2 separate regions of the Homo sapiens genome follow, and region 1 is linked to region 2. Evidence: promoter capture Hi-C in human tissues and cell types (Jung and others, 2019). All regions are on one chromosome and are shown on one strand. Each heading gives the region's core, a stretch centred on a gene start or on the middle of the fragment in contact. The rest is flanking DNA. Distances are from core to core; before and after follow the strand shown. Region 1 holds the start of LINC02230 (long intergenic non-protein coding RNA 2230). Region 2 holds the start of FOXD1 (forkhead box D1).

Evidence for each region. The method cuts DNA at HindIII sites, captures the fragments that hold promoters and counts their contacts. A contact is called where the count stands out against the background at its distance.
Region 1: a fragment that was not itself captured here is called in contact with the fragment with the promoter of FOXD1 in region 2 in 2 of the 25 tissues and cell types used here (IMR-90 fibroblasts and mesenchymal stem cells).

Annotation. Positions count from the first base shown.
Region 1 is chr5:73,335,536-73,339,185 of GRCh38, forward strand. It overlaps LINC02230 (long intergenic non-protein coding RNA 2230), which reads left to right and starts at 2,371. Exons shown (of 2, transcript NR_146627.1): 1 at 2,371-2,420; 2 at 2,748-3,230. The HindIII fragment of the contact is 3,119 bases long and covers 167-3,285 here.
Region 2 is chr5:73,446,519-73,450,204 of GRCh38, forward strand. FOXD1 (forkhead box D1) reads right to left here and starts at 2,259. Exons shown (of 1, transcript NM_004472.3): 1 at 1-2,259. The coding sequence starts at 1,844. The coding sequence ends at 447. The HindIII fragment of the contact is 13,220 bases long and covers 1-3,686 here.

The DNA.
Region 1 (3,650 bases), core at 476-2,975, 110 kb before region 2:
TGGGATTACAAGTGTGAGCCACTGTGCTCAGCCCAGAGTTCTTCACATTTCCGAAAAGAATGTAAAAATATCTCTTGCAGTGCTGAAAACAACATACTCTCCACTCTAAAGGATCCAGAGCCCCAGTGCAAGTGATGATATAAGGAAGATGTGTCCAGTGCTTAGAGGAGGACAGCCAACCAGCAAAAACACAACAGTAAATGCTGTCTTCATAGCAAAATGCCAGGACTGTAGAAAGAGGAAACAATGGACCCAAAGGTAGTCCGTGCACGATGAATTGGATTTTCACCACATCCATAATAACTGAACAGTCCATCCAAAGCCTGAAGCATGTACACAGTTTACCAAGGGTGCAGCAGTGGGAAAAGCACAATTCTAGAGCCAGGCAGACTGGGTTTGAATCCCAATTCCAGTACTTACTAGCTATGTAACCTGGTACTGGTTGCCTAAGTTCTCAGACCTCAATTTTCTTATCTGTGAAATGAGAATTCATTCATTAGTTCAGCATTTATTCAATGCTTATTATGCGGCAAACATTCCACTAGGTCCAAAGTAATACAATGATGAATAAAACAGGCTTCTTGTGAGTTCCAATTTAAATGAAATAATGCATGTAAAGCACCTACTACAGAGACAGGTACATGGGAGATGATTAATAATTTTTATTTCCTTTCTCGTTTTTTATCCTTTCACAGATGTAGAAGTAGCTAAATCCCAAACAACCATTTGTTCATCAAAAGATAAATACTGTCATCTCTACCTCCAGCACAAAGAAAGCATTAATCCATGGACTGACTCCTCTCAGGAGAATTTAGCGTCTCAAGTGTGAAGTCTTTTCACTGGAGCTTGAGATGAAGAAGAAGAGGGAATTCTAAAGGTTCCCCATCATCCACCTACCCTGACCATCCCCCCTATTCTGGACCTACCCTTGACTAACAGTCACATAGTGTAGGGAGTAGAGTACAGAAAGCAGAGGATGTACTGGTTCATTTTCCTGAGCCACTTACTAATCACCTGACAGAAGGCGAGTCATTTCAGCCAAAAATAATAACAGCCGTCATCTACTGAATCCCTTAAAAGTGCCCCCACTAGACTGAAAATTCCTTGAGATAAGGATGGACTTACTTATGCCCTCCCTTAAGTGACTACCAAAGTGCAAATAGTTGGCACTCAAAATACATTCATTGAATATAAAATTGAGATAATTCTTTTTTCCTTTATTTTTTGCCTGCTTCATTTTTCCTTTATATAAAACTGGGATCATTCTGCCTTGCCCATGCTGTAGGGTTTTTATGAAGATTAAATGAGTGCATTTCTATAAAAACTTTTTGAGGTTATAAAATATGCAAATGTAAGGAATCTGTCTGTTTTGGGTCTAGGAAAAAAGTAGAAAAAAGAAGAAATGAAAAAGATAAAAGAGAGCTGGGAGTGAGGTAGGCAGCTACATTTGAAAGCAATCTGAAGCCACTCAGAGGTGGAGGAAAGAGATTTAAATTGCTGCAAGAATTTGAAGGCCACCTCCCACCCAGCCCATCAGTCTTTCAGGGACTGTTCTTCAAGACTTACTCAAAGACATTCTGTCCTATGACCAACTTTAGGGTAACGGGGAAAAGAATTATGACAGTCACATCATATGATGAAATGCCAAGTAGCATTTCAAAGGTCACACTTCAGAAAGTCTGTTAATGATATGGAAAGTGATTAAGCACAAATTATGTAATTTTAAAAATAAAGCAGTTGAGATCTTAATTTTGTAAATATATATATATAATAAAAACATATAGAAGCAATGAGAAAAGACTGAGCAGAGATCTATCAATAAGTTACCAGAAATATATTATTATAAGTCATTTTAATTGTCTTTTAAATATATATGCATTTTTATACACTCTTCAATGAATAAGTGAATAATTGGAAATATAACTCTGTGTGTGTGTGTGTAAACATATTCTGTTCTTCACTGTTCTAGCCAGGAACTGATTTAGATCTGAATCAATTATTCCAAGAACCAAAATCACCAAGAACTGAATCACATCCAATCACCTTGAACCAAGTCCCAGTTGGAAAAAATGAGACCCATAATTCAGCTTTTTCGTTTTGTCAGCTGTAAGGCTAGATTAGGCCCTTTCCCCTTCAACCCTGGAGGTTAGATGCCTGGTTCCAGCAATGGCTCTTCTTCTAATAGCTCTGTGCTCTCAGACATATCACTGCCCCTCTCTGGGCCTCCCTCCTGTGCTGTAAAATGATGGAGCTGCAATCGGGGCCGCCTGGGCAATTGTTACGCCACTCATGACCTTCTCTTGGTTCTTTTCCTCTGTGTTCTGCTTGTTCCGTTTCACTGCCCCTTACAATTCTTCCCAAGGAAAAGAAGTGAAATGCAAATGAGTTTTTTGAGTTTTTGTTGACACCTCTAACTGCAGGTTGGAAAGCTTGGGGGCTTTGGCCCTGGTTGGGTAGGTTCTGCTCGCTGGGGAATCAGGCCTGAGCTGGCTCTGATCCCTCTCCCTTCTCCTAATCACTGCCCTGGCTGCAGAACTCTGGGCTGGCACCAGAATAGCAGCCAACATTTGGCTGACACAGGACATAATTTTTAATCATGGGAAGGCAGACATAAGTACAAAAGGCCTATTTTCTTCACGCAGGTTCAAGTATCTGCTTTTGGGTTATGTCTGTCTGTATTTGGCAGGGCTGGTCTTGGGGAAGTTCCGGGATTCGTGAACAAAAGGTCAGTCTCCTTCCTTTTCCAGGATGGAAGCGGCACAAATTGTTCTGATCAGGGAGCAATAACATGCAACGATCCCCAGGGCTCCCAGGCAGGCGGAGGGGGCACCCAGTCTCAGCAGCCCGCGATCTGCTTGGCCCCTGCGAGCTGCATGCCTCACATTTCCCCAGCTCCAGCCTCCTTTCAAAGGCCCTTTATTAAACCACCAACTATTTGCTGTCGAGACATTTAGGATGAAATCATTGTGTTAAACAAATAAACGCAGCTTCGTCCAGATTTCTGCTCTGGGAGCAGAGTAAGAAAATAATTTCTGTCTGCTCGCCACAAAAGCGGCTGGAAAGGTCCAAAGAAAAATATTATTTTTACTCCATTGTGTGAAATATTGTCCTGGAGGATCTGACGGGCTGAGCGTTTGAAGAGTTTGTGCTGGCAGGTTTCAAGGGTCCCCTGGGTCGGCCCCCTGGGATTGTTTTCTGCATTAATAAACTGAGCATGATGTGTGTTAAAAGGAACATTCTGTTTGCTTTGTAAATAAGGGATGTCAAACAAGAAGCAGAAGCCTTACAGACACTAGGTGATGTGTTCTCAGAGCGGGGAGAGGGAGGAGGGTGGGAGAGGCACCCTGGAAAAATGGGCATCACTGGGGCTCCCTGAACTGAGCGGAGGCCTTGTTGAGAAAACAAATCAGTCTGTTTGAGTCCAAACCAGGCCACTTCCTCACTGATCCTGGTGGGAAAGCTGAACACTTTGCCCTGAACCAGCAGGATACGGGCTTGGGAAGGAAAGTTCTCAAGTGTCTGTCAGCTGTGTGGTGGAGGAGAGATGATGGCGCCTGGCAGAGGCCCTCCCCCTACCCGCACCCCCCTCCCCTCCCTTTTGGAGAAGGTTCTTGGCTTGCCGGGGTCTCCCAGAGCTGGAGGGCAGGAGG
Region 2 (3,686 bases), core at 1,009-3,508:
AAATAAAAAAGAATTGCTTCGCTGGCATTCTTCAAGACCTTTACTATTTTTGTATTATTCTTTTGACCATTATTTTTTAACGCCTGGACCTGAGAATCTCTACACCTCAAAAAGGCTTAGTTGTTTTTCATCTGCCAAACGTCAAGGGAGCCTCTAGTGCCTGGACAGGGCGGACTCCCTTCCCCGGCACCCTCTTCCTCCCTACCCCAGGTCGGGGGTTGGGGGGCTGTAGCATAGGTCGGCTTTGCATAAATAGAGGGACCCGCAGAGCCAAAAGGCGCGCCCGGGCTGTTGACAGTTTTGTCCGAGAATTCGCAGCGGCGAAAATGGGCGCGCGAGGTCGAGAGGGGCCGCGCCTGGAGGAGCGAACAAAACACCGAACCACCAAGACGAGAAAAGGAGCCGGGATTCCTACCTTCTTCCTCGAGCGCGCTAACATAGCGTTATTAACAATTGGAAATCCTAGCAGTAAAGTTCTCGACACTGGACAGGGCAGTCCCTTGGTGCAGAGTCCCCAAGGCGGCGGACGAGGAGACTGAGGAGGCGGCGGCGGCCGCGGCGGCCACGAGGGATCGGGTGAGCGCGGCCGCCGGGCCCACGGCCGCCTGCGCCGCGCAGCCTCCTCCGCTGGATCCGGGAGCTGGCGGCGCCGCCACCGGCGAGGGCGAGGGCGAGGCCTGAGCGGCGGCGGCGGCCTGCGCGGCGGCGGCGGCAGCGGCGGCCGGGCCCAAGCTGCCCCCGATGATGCTCTCGATGGAGAAGGGCGAGCGCGCCAGCGCTGAGGCGCCCGGGCCGCCCGCCTTGGCCGCGGAGGCCGGCAGGGGGCCGGGTAGGGCGGCGCCGAGCGGGTGCGGCCGGTAGCCGAAGGCGGTCCGGGCCAGCTCGGCGGCCGCGCCGTGCGGTGGCGGGGGCGGCGGGGGCGAGTGCGGGTGGAAGGCGGCGGCGGCGGCGGCGGCCGCTGCGGCGGCGAAGAGGGCCGAGGGCGGCGCGTAAGGCGGCAGCTGCAGGCCGTAGCCGCAGCCGTAGGGGCCGTAGCCGTAGGCATGCGGGGGCGGCGGGGGCGCGGGCGGGAAGAGCGCGGCGGCGGCTGCCGGGTCGCCCGCGCCCCCTGCGGCTCCCGCGCCGCGCAGCAGCAGAGACTCGGCGGCCGCGGCGTTGGGTGGGAGCAGCGGCTGCCGCTTGAAGCGCTTCCTCCGGCGCAGGAAGCTGCCGTTGTCGAACATGTCGGCGGACTCCGGGTCCAGCGTCCAGTAGTTGCCCTTGCCCGGGTTGCCGGGCTCGCGGGGGATCTTGACGAAGCAGTCGTTGAGCGAGAGGTTGTGGCGGATGCTGTTCTGCCAGGCGGGGAACTTCTCCCGGTAGTAGGGGAAGCGGCCGCTGATGAACTCACAGATCTCGCTCAGCGTCAGCCGCTTCTTGGGGCTCTGCAGGATGGCCATAGTGATGAGCGCGATATACGAGTAGGGCGGCTTCACCAGCGGGTTCTTGGCGCCGCTACCCGCGCTCCCGCCGCCGCCCGCGCCGCCGCCGCCGCCGCCCCCACCGGCTCCTGCCCCCGCCGCCGGGGCCGGGCCCGGGGGCGCCGGGGAGCCCCCAGCAGGCGGGGCCAGCAGGATGTCATCGTCGTCCTCCTCCTCCTCCAGATCCTCCAGCTCGTCCTCCCCGGCGTACGAGCGCCGCCGCCGCCGCCGCTGCGCGGGGACAGCCAGCCGGGGCCCGCCACCGCCGCCCTCGTCGTCGTCCTCCTCTTCCTCGTCTTCTTCGTCCTCGCCCTCCCCCACCACGTCGATGTCTGTTTCCTCGGCGAGGCCAGAGGCATCGGACATCTCAGTGCTCAGGGTCATAGCTGTGGCGCGGCGGCGGCGGGGCGGCGCATGGGGGCGCCGGGCTCCGGGCTCCCTCTGCGCCCCAGCCCGGGTCCCGGGCGGCAGGCCCGGCCGGGGGGCGCCACGCTGGGGGCGCTGCGACTGCGGCTGCCGGAGCTGCGCCGGGGCTGCCGGGTGGCGGCGGAGTCTCGCGCGCCGACTTTATAACTCCTGCGCCGCCGCGGTAGCCGCGCGGATGCTGCGCTCCCTGGGCTCCGCTCGCGCCCGGCCCGGGCGGAGGACTTGACCTTCTCCTCTCGGAGCAGCTTTTGCCCCGTCAGCTGAGGAGGGGGTGGCGGGGCCCGGGCGGGCGAATCAGAACGCCAGGCGCCCAGGAACGTGCGGGACGGGTGAGAGTCTAAGAACAGAGCTCGGCGAGGCCAGGGCTGAGTCCAGGAGAGGGCGGACCTTCCTCGGCTTATAGCAGAAGGGGGCCTGTCACATGGTGTGCACGTCAGAGCGCTGCCGAGGGAAGGAAAGCAAGCCTAGGAAATCAGCCCTTCTCGGGAGAGAAAATTCACCCGTAGGAGGGAGGCAGCAGCTGAGAAGAGTGGGGAGGAGAGGGGACCTCACTATTTCTTGCCAAAGAGGCTGATGCCCGAATTACGCGGCTGTCTGCACCGAGGGCCGCTGCACGAGTTAGACTTCCCAGCCTCCTCAATTAGTCCTCCACCCTAACCTCAGAAGCACACCCGCGACACTCTGGTTTGACCCCTCGACAGCCTGTAGGAGCCTTCCAGCCGGGGGATAACCACCCCATCCTCTGAGGTGGCCCCTGGGGGACGCTCTGGGGTCGGTTGGGGGTGTCCAGCCCCTCCAGATCGGGCGAGCGGCCCCCCATTGGATCTGATGCGAAGCCCCCCAATTTAAGCACGATAATAATTGTTTATTGACCCTTTAACCCATTCTCTTCGGTTTTACTCCAAAGACGTTTGTTTTCCGCCATCTGTTAATAAAAACGCTGTGAGACTGGCGTTTTACTCACTTCTCTGCGATTGAATGCCCTAGAGACTTGACAGTTAAACTAAGCCACTCTAATGAGACGATCTGACAAATGTCATGGGAATAAAGAACGTAATAATTGAATTCGGAGAAGAAATTGAAATTTTTAGTGAAAACCCAAATACACGCACAAAAATTGCACCTAGAAACTACTAAAAAGTTCGACCAGCCTGGCCAACATGGTGAAACCCCGTCTCTACTAAAAATAGAAAAAAATTAGTAGGCGGCGCCTGTAATCCCAGCTACTCGGGAGGCCGAGGCAGGAGAATCGCTTGGACCCGGGATGCGGAGGTTGCAGTGAGCCGAGATCGTGCCACTGCACTCCAGCCTGGGCAACAAGAGCGAAACTCCGCCTCAAAAAAAAAAAAAAAAAACAGAAGTTCGTTCATAATGGGGCTATATAGTTCTCAGTAGGAGGAACATTCTAGTCAGCACTTTGCATAGTAATCTCAAAATACTTAAATTACATAACATATACATATTTCTACTGAGGCTTATTAATAGAAACTATAATGATAGATGACTTTAAGATAAACTTTTTAAAAATGTGTTTTTGGAAAATCCTTAAATATTGTTAATCCTTTCTGGTGAGATGAAAATTTTTTTTATGAGATTAAAGTTCCGCTCAATTCAGTTTTCTTTTCGGGTGACAAGATAGTGGAAATAATTAAGATATGATGCTCTTTTAAATATACCTATCTTTATCACCAACTCAAACGAGCTATTTTGGCTAGTGGAAAAATCCTAATAGTTTGTTGAATTCACATTCACTTATTTGTGCATTTCCTAAAATGCTTCTATTTCAAAGAGGGGAGCTTG